Linked DNA regions of Homo sapiens: region 2 is linked to region 1. Evidence: promoter capture Hi-C in 16 types of primary human blood cells and fetal thymus (Javierre and others, 2016). All regions are on one chromosome and are shown on one strand. Each heading gives the region's core, a stretch centred on a gene start or on the middle of the fragment in contact. The rest is flanking DNA. Distances are from core to core; before and after follow the strand shown. Region 1 holds the start of CLCN5 (chloride voltage-gated channel 5). Region 2 holds the start of USP27X-DT (USP27X divergent transcript).

Region 1 (4,170 bases), core at 531-3,030:
CCAACATGGTGAAACCCCGTCTCTACTAAAAATACAAAAATTAGCCAGGTATGGCGGTGCACTATAATTACAAGTGACGCCTGTAATCCCAGCTACTCGGAAGGCTGAGGCAGGAGAATCGCTTGAACCCGGGAGGGAGGCGGAGGTTGCAGTGAGCCAAGATTGTGCCACTGCACTCCAGCCTGGGCGACAGAACGAGAGCCGGCTCAAACCAAAAAAAAAAAAAAAAATAGGAGCTAGGAATGGGAGAAAAAATGAGAGGTCTGACGACTTAGTTTGACTTAGAGGCTTAACACTCTGCTTGCCCATTTAAACAAGATCTCAGTTAATAAACTGGTCTTCCCTACTTAGCATACAAGCCAATCTGTTTTTTCTAAAAGTCTTCACCTTTTTGACCTGGTGAACATCAAAGTAGATTGTTATTTCCATATCTTTTATACAACCAACACCTCCACCTCCTAAGTGAAAGTGCTAAAGCACAAACACTGAAGGCTAATACTAGCTTGAGAATCGTGTTGGCCTTCTTTAATGACAAAAGGGTTAATGTGTACACCAGTCCCAAAACACCAACAGAGAAAAGACAGTGCTTTGGACAAGGAAAAGTTCGCGAAGTCCAAGAAAACTAGGAACTCACAAACTCCTAGGGTGAATTCAGCAGGAAAAAGCGCTCCGATGACTTCTCTGAGACCTGGGACAGTCTGTTTTGATTTGCCTTTTTTCTTCTCCTATTTCGCGTGCAGTTAAGAAGTAATGATCATCGTCCCGTGGGACTAGGCGAAATTTAACATCCCTGAAGTTAAACCCGAGCAGTTGCTAATAAATGTATGAAGTTTATGTAAAGTTGATTCGTGCTGGTTTTTTATGCTCCAAACTTCTAGATTTCCCTCACTTACTCGGGGCAGCTTCCACTGACGTTATCGCACGGGCACAGGTACAACTTCACTGGGAACTCCAGGCAACTGATTTGCTCTGAAATGTTAATCAAAGGAAACGTGCGTCAATGTAAAGGCAAAGCTTTTCCCGTGTGGATCAAGGCGCTCAAGAGCAAGGCTCGAAAGTCTGGAGAGAACCAGCTACGCGCGTTAAGTGGCAAAAGGAAAACAGCGCAGCAACTACTTTTCCGAGAGTTTCTCCACTTTGCTAAGACCCATACAAAACCAGCGGCAAGTCCAGAGCCGGAGGGAGAAGAGCCGGGCCTCGGCTGAGCTTTGCCAGCCTAAGTCACCCTACCCCAGTCCGGGAAAGGGGACGCAGGCGGCTAAACACTCCGATTCAAAAGCGGGGCGGGCTTGGCGCCGCTCCGCAAGGAAACTTCGCTCGGGCAACCCAGGGACCATAACTCGGAGAACAGGGCTGGGCTCCCGGGAAGACGCCGCTCAGCACTGGCTGGAACTAGCCTGTCTACCTCCTCTAAGCGCCGGGCTGCCAACGCCGGGCGCGGGGAAGCCCCATCTCCGGGGGTCCAAGCCAGCGGGATTGCGCTTCCCCTGTGTCGCTGCGCTTAGGGGGTGCTCCGGGGGTGGGCCGGGGGCCAGCGGCCCGCCAAGGACCTGTTGGGGAAGGGACAGCCCGTTTGCCTTTACCTGTCGCCGAGGTCCGGAGCGGCGGAGCCCGTGTCCGCCGCCGGTGGGCAGCGCGCTCGGTCGGCTCTGGCGTCCAGGACACCAAGTTGAGTGAGCGCCCCACGTAGCCGGCAGAGCTTCATTCACACAGCCCAGCCGGGGAGGAGGGGGAGCGAAGCGGGCGCGCGGCTCATGTGACAGGGCGCCTCGCGAGTATCGGCTCAGCCCAGCCAGCGTCTGCGCGTGCGCGCCACGCCGAGCTCACACCCGGCACCTCTACCCAGCCGAGATGAGGGGAGGCCCGCCGGGGAGGAGCTGCCAGGAGGAGTTTCAACTTGCGCAGCCGCAGTACGTCGGCCCCGCTCGCTGCCATATTTAATGAGGACTGGGCGGGCGGGTCCTATCCCAGTGCTGGGCGTGTCAGTTGCCTTTGAAAACGCAATGCCCCATTGTGTTTCACTATTTCCAGCTTGCAGTGCCTTTTTTTGCTGGGGAGAAGGTTTGTCCTTAGAATGAAACTGTCTATCCTGAGCTTTCGGCCCACAGAGTAATTAGTAGTAGAAATCTAATACTAATAACATTAGATCACATAATTTGAGCTGCTTCTTATGTGCCAGGCACTCTCCTAACCCCTTTACTTTTTTCGTCTCATTTGGTGTTCACAATAACCCCGAGGGTTATTTCTCCATTTTTACTCATAAAAATACACAGGCACAGAAAGGTTAAGTAACTTGTCTAAACTCATATAATAGTAGGAATAGGAATAGTGATCAAACGTAGTGATACTTTTAACAGCCAACTTGATGTTTCCAGCAACGCTGCAAAAACTATACTGCAGTTGTTAGTACTGTATTATCTCCATATTAATCATTACAAAACAGAGGCTCAGAAAAGCTGAAGTCACAGGACTAGTACGTGGTAGAACTGGGAATCCAACCTAGGTCTAACTTACTCCAAAGCCCTTACCCTAGGTTTGAAAGAAACAGCACACCGTTTTGCAGAAGAGAAAACTTAGGCCAAATGGGGTGCACTGACTCACTTAAGATGATCCAGCTAATTAGTTCTTGGCAGACCTGAGACTGGAATCCATATAATCCAAGTAATCTAACTAGAACCAGGGTACTCTACTGCAGTGAACAATTTGGAATGCCTACTTTGGACAAGCTAAGTGGTCAGGGATTTAAAAACCCCTATCCTAGCCCAATCAGCATAAGGCTACCGGGGACAAATTTGTAATCCGACATAGTCAGGCTTTGACCCATTGCAATATGAGAGACTGCACACGGTAGGCATTTCATCAAACAGAAAAACATGGAGTCATTATAGGATTGGAGAGAAGAGTGGAGTTTAGGTGAATTTTAAACAAAGCAGTGTTTTTGGTAAGCTCAAAGCAAAGCAGTACTGTCATTTGGGGTCACCATCAGGTCTGAACTGCAAAGTGAACCCAGAGTTGTGTTTCCTTGGGAACCACAAAATAAAGATAGATGTGGAATGTTGTGTCCAGATACCCCTTATCTGAAGCTCTGCACCTGGGTTGGAAATTGAGGCTGCTTCTCTGTGTCAAAGAAACTTATGTCCTCCAGATGCATGTGGGATGTTTCATTCTTACTGATACGATTTCAAGCAGAAAAGTTTCTGATAATCTACGATTTTAGAGAACAAAGTCTCTCAGTGAATAAAAAAGTGGTGGTCACTGAAATAAAAACATCGTTACCACTTTACAGCTGCAATATGTCCGCCAAAGAAATATTGTTCTCTGTTAAATTTGCATCTGGTTTTATCTGTGTGTTATTCCGGCCTGATGAATGGCCGGATTTTTATTTTTTCAGTCCAAAATTTTTTTGCTTTCTGAGCTGGTAACATTCAGTCCCTTCCTTCAGGCACTCATGGTGTATGGGATAGCCACAAATAACTAGAAAATATCAGTACAGGCCTCTAATAAAGGTAAATCCAAGTGGAGGTAACACCGTTGGCAAAGGTGAGCAGGCAGGAAGTTATATGTGAGGACCCGTGAGTAGTCCTATGTGGTTGAAGTTTAGGGTAAGGAAGTACAGGGGAATTGTGGAAGATAATACCCAGAAGGTAAATTGGGGCCCAATTTTGGAGCATCCTGAATATTGGACTAAGATTTATACCTAATTCAAAAAGTGACTGAGAAAGAATTGAGGTTTCTGAGCAAGGCAATCCTCTTTTGGAATTCATCTTTTAAAAGGTGAATCTAGAGTAATTGTTCAAGGAAAGGTTTGATTGTTTGCTTGATTTTTTTTTTTGTCATTGAAGTAGAAGAAACTGGAGCTTATATGTAGGTCGAGCAGAAAAACTACTGGTGAAATCAATAATAAAGAGGCAAGAGGCCGGGTGCAGTGGCTCACGCCTGTAATCCCAGCACTTTGGGAGGCCAAGGCAGGTGGATCACTTGAGGTCAGGAGTTCGAGACCAGCCTGGCCAACATGATGAAACCCCATCTCTACTAAAAATACATGGCTAGGCATGGTGGCTGGCGCCTGTAATCCCAGCTACTCAGGAGGCTGAGGCAGGAGAATAACTTGAACCCAGGAGGCAGAATTTGCAGTGAGCCGAGATCGCACCACGGCACTCCAGCCTGGGA
Region 2 (4,170 bases), core at 1,249-3,748, 45 kb after region 1:
GCTCGGGTTCGGGCTCCAGCTTGAGCTCAGCCCGGCGGCCCGGACCCTCCGCCGTCTCCACCTTCCCAGCGGCGTCCACCTTCCCCGCCGTCTCCACCTTCTCGGTGGCGTCCACCTTCCCCGCCGCCTCCGCCTTCCCCGCCGCCTCCGCCTTCCCCTCCACCTTCGCCTCCGCCTCCACCTTCCTCTCCGCCTTCTCCGCCGTCTCCGCCTCCTCTACCTCCTCCGCCTCCACTGGCGGCGGCTCCTCCCCCTGCTCGCAGGGCTCGGGCGGCCACTGGGCGTGGCGGCGCGGGGGCCACGCAGACCTGGGGTGTCCCCCGCCCGGCCTGAGGGAGCGCGGTGGCTGTGGCAGCTGGACCCAAAAGGGACTTTCACTGAAGGAGGCGGCGGCGGAAGCAGGCGACGCCCCCGGGAATCCTCCCGCCGAAGCCCCCTAGTGGAGGCTGCTTCTGCAGCCAGGCCCCGTTTCCTTTAATTCAGTATTTTCCAAACTTGCTTGTTCACGAGAATCACGTGGGGAGCGTGTTAAAATTACAGATTCCTTGGCTCCACCCGCAGGCCTACTGAATCAGAATCTCGAAGGGAGGTACTCCGGAACCTGTATCTCTAACTAGGGCCCCAGAGGCTGCTTATGATCAGGCAAGTTTGGGAAACACAGCTCTAATTCATTGAGGCTGGCGGGAAGGGGGGCGGGGACCGCGCAGTCTCTTTAAGGCGCTTCCAGCTCTCGGCTCCAATCGCTGCTCTGACCCCCTTCATCGTCTCCTCCCCTCTCCTCGTCCTTCCCCTCGTCTATGCAGGCTTCCCTCGGCCACTGCGGGGCTGGGGGCCGAGCGGGTGCCAAGTCCAGAAATGTTTCTGAGGCTGTGAAATGTCCCCTCTGAGGGGGGTCCTAGGGAGCGCAGGCAGAAGCCGTGACAGGCCATCATTTCGGCGGCCGAGCCTGCCTCTAGCCTCGTCCCTGTCTCCCTTCCCACGCCAGGTCCTGCGCTTCCCGAAAAGGATGAAGCTCCAGCTGCAGTTCTGGGGAGGCCTGGACCCCAGCTCCGGGGGGGCCGGGCTACCAAGGCCGCTGGGCCTGGAGAGGCGCGTCCCTGGCCCATCTTATCAGCGCTCTGCAGGGTCTGGGCCTGCTGCTCGCGTCCTCCTGGGCTCCCAAGGCCACGGGTGGGTTAATGGCTTGACAGCCGGCCTCCTGGCCCAGCAGACGCTGAGCAGCCCGATGGCACAATCCACCTCTTCTCTCCAAGGCCAGCTGGAGGGACGAGGCACGACAAGGCCATCCCTACAGCTGGCACTTCCCCTACAGCTGAGAGGGGGCCTAAACTACAGGACACACTCCCAAGACCCTTAAGCCCTGGCAGCATCCCGGGGGAGGGGGGCAGCAGGTGGAAGTGGAAAGAAGCCTGTGGAGCTGCCAGCAGGGAGAGGGAGTCGGACATGAGGCTGAGAGGCCTCTGGGAACCCCTGTGCCAAGGGGCTGCTGGCACTGGGCAGCAGCACCCCAGAGCCCACGAGGAGTGTGCCCAGAGCAAGTGGCTCAGACCTGGGTCATGGCTCGAGGGTGTCGGGCTGTAGCTGCTGGTCCCAGAGAGTGCAGCCCAGGGCAGGCATCAGGACAGGAGTAGGAGGAGAAAGAGTGTTCTAGGAAGAGTCTAGTCCCCTAATCCTGGTGGTGGCTGGCTGTAGCCTAGTGCACGCTGTCTGGCTTGTGTGGCTGTGCTGCCTGAGTATACATACCCTAGCAACATTCTCCTTGCTCAGCACTGGACATCAGCTCTCCACCTGGCCCCTTCCTCTAGGGAGGGGATGGGGAGGCCTCCTAGGGTTAGCAGCAGGAGTTGGGCCTCAGGAATCAGGAGCCCTTGAAAGGAGGATGCGTGGTTCCCATAAAACTGAGGGTTGCCCTGGGCCCTACCCTTCCTGAGTCAGCTCTTGCTTCAATTCCTTGAAGCACCCCAGCATCCTTTCAATAAATGCCTGCCCTTTGTGGCCTGCAACCAGAGGAACTGCAACTAGCACACTCACTGAAGGAATCCTGCTGCTGCTGCTGCTGCTAAAAACAACCGAGGTCATGGATGAGGGGGTGGAGGATACTCTCATCCCACCTCCAGACTGACAACAAAAAGACCTAAAGATCTCTGTGTACCTGGGACTGTCTACCATTGAAGATTAGCCATGGTAACTTGTTGACTTAGTGATCAACTTCCTGCAGAAGCCCATAGGTCCACCTGGACTCTGCCCAGGCCAGCGTGTTCTGAAAATGGAGGGCTCTGTCACCATTCACTCAACAAATGTTTATTCTGCACTGACCGAGGGCCAGATGTACCAAGAGCTGTGGACACAGCACTCCAACTTACTCCAGGGCTACTGAAATCAGGGATGGCTTCCCCAAAAGGCACACTAAGGAAAGTCTATGTCACTAGCAGAGAAGAGGCACCAAAGACAAAAAATCAAAAAAGAAAAAATACCAGAAACAGTTTGACATTTGATTTTTTTTAAGTAGTCCTCGTGGGAAAAATCAGAACTTTGTTGTACTTCCTTACATTCATTTCCTGATTACATGATGCTTTTGTTTTGAATCACGTGTGGAGGGTGTCACCAAAATCTTTAGATGCTTTGTCCTTATGTGGATCTGGACCCAGATCCTAGCAAATGTTACCATCTCTGCCTCACAAAGATCTGACAGAATGCAGGCAGTTGGGGCTATCCTTAGGAGAGACAGCTCTCCTTCGCAGTAGATGCACCTGGGTGATAAATCCAACTCTGACCACAAGGTGGCAAAAGAGTAAATGACAATTCCTCATATATGTTTTGTATGTTTATATAAAACTATTGGTTTATATAAAATGCTCTCTAAAAATATTAAGAAAAACGTGTGCTCCTTCACACATTTTTGGGTTGATGTCTGATATTTTGCATCACAAATGTCAATTGGCTACAAATAATGTAATTTGTGACAAATGTTAATATTCAAAAATAAAACTGTTATGTCACTATTTCACATGAATCCGGTGAAACCTAAATACCTTAGTGACTTGAGAGCCACCATCATCTGTTTTAAAAATGTATAACTGAGCTCTTCTTTGATACTTGGAAGTTGTACATTTTCCCTTTTCTCAGCTCTTAATTCCATTCTGTTTTTCCAACAGAATTTTGTCTCAATAATTGTCTGTTTTTTCACTTGAAATGTTTTTGATTATCCTATCGTATTTCTCTGCAGCAAAAATGTGTATATATTTTTCAATTTAAATGCTCTTTAAATGTTCCTCTGATTATAAGGCTCTAAGTGTTGTTTAAAAATTTGCTCTTGTTTGAATTATCATGACAATTAGTATTAGAATAAAATGGATCAAAACATTGTGAATATATTACAAATTTTGATAGGTAATTATTAAACGTAAAACAAAAGTTCATTGTAGATAGGGCTTTTTTAAAAAAAATTAATGGGTGTATCCATGGATAAACATTGCTTTTTGCTAGAATGAGATAGGCTTCAGCATCAATTCTCTTCCTATTTTTTGTTTGGTTAAATGTTAGCACACAGAAACCTCATTTATATGAATAAGTGAATAGGAATGGACATTTTGTTTTAGCAATGCACGCAAGTCTTTGAATTCCTTTGGAGATATATGGGGGGAAATTACACAATGATTTATCCTCAAAATTATTTCTCATGATTTATCAGCTGATAACTTCATAGGTTTTTTCTTCAATTCTACTGGAAGCAAAGAATTGGAAACCATCTGAGTTGCAAAAGGATTTTATCCCCATTCATTTGTTAGAGCAAGTTGTTTGTTTACCATCGTCAGCATTGTTCGGAATTGTCTCTCCTGTGCCCCAAGGATTTTACATCACAGGGCAGCGCACCCAGGTTAAGATTCAGGATAGGTAAAAGATATGCTTTTTCTTTTGTAAAGTGCAAAAAGGACCATTGTGAAAGGGGAGATAGAAAAAGAGAACCAGTTTGATTCCTACACTGCAAGTATGTTCTCTGGCAGGTCAATTTTAAAAGACTACACAGGAAATTTGAGGATATAGAAATTGATCCCCTTAAAACTCCTGTACTCCAGGGTGATGCACATTCCACTTTAAAAGTTGCTAGTTTATATTTATTATTATAAAAGTAATATATACAATATTCGTGTTTTTTTAATAACAAGGTAT

What was found. Contacts are between HindIII fragments. The CHiCAGO score rates a contact against its expected background, and 5 or more counts as called.
Region 2: a contact is called between a fragment that was not itself captured here and the fragment with the promoter of CLCN5 in region 1, in 1 of 17 cell types (fetal thymus). The highest score is 5.9, in fetal thymus.

The regions. Positions count from the first base shown.
Region 1 is chrX:49,920,206-49,924,375 of GRCh38, reverse strand. It overlaps CLCN5 (chloride voltage-gated channel 5), which reads right to left and starts at 1,780. Exons shown (of 15, transcript NM_001127898.4): 1 at 1,584-1,780; 2 at 894-969. RefSeq lists a silencer at 1,469-1,518. The HindIII fragment of the contact is 4,286 bases long and covers 1,017-4,170 here.
Region 2 is chrX:49,875,563-49,879,732 of GRCh38, reverse strand. It overlaps USP27X-DT (USP27X divergent transcript), which reads left to right and starts at 377. Exons shown (of 2, transcript NR_026742.1): 1 at 377-642; 2 at 986-3,009. USP27X (ubiquitin specific peptidase 27 X-linked) reads right to left here and starts at 249. Exons shown (of 1, transcript NM_001145073.3): 1 at 1-249. RefSeq lists a silencer at 18-427. The HindIII fragment of the contact is 6,269 bases long and covers 1-4,170 here.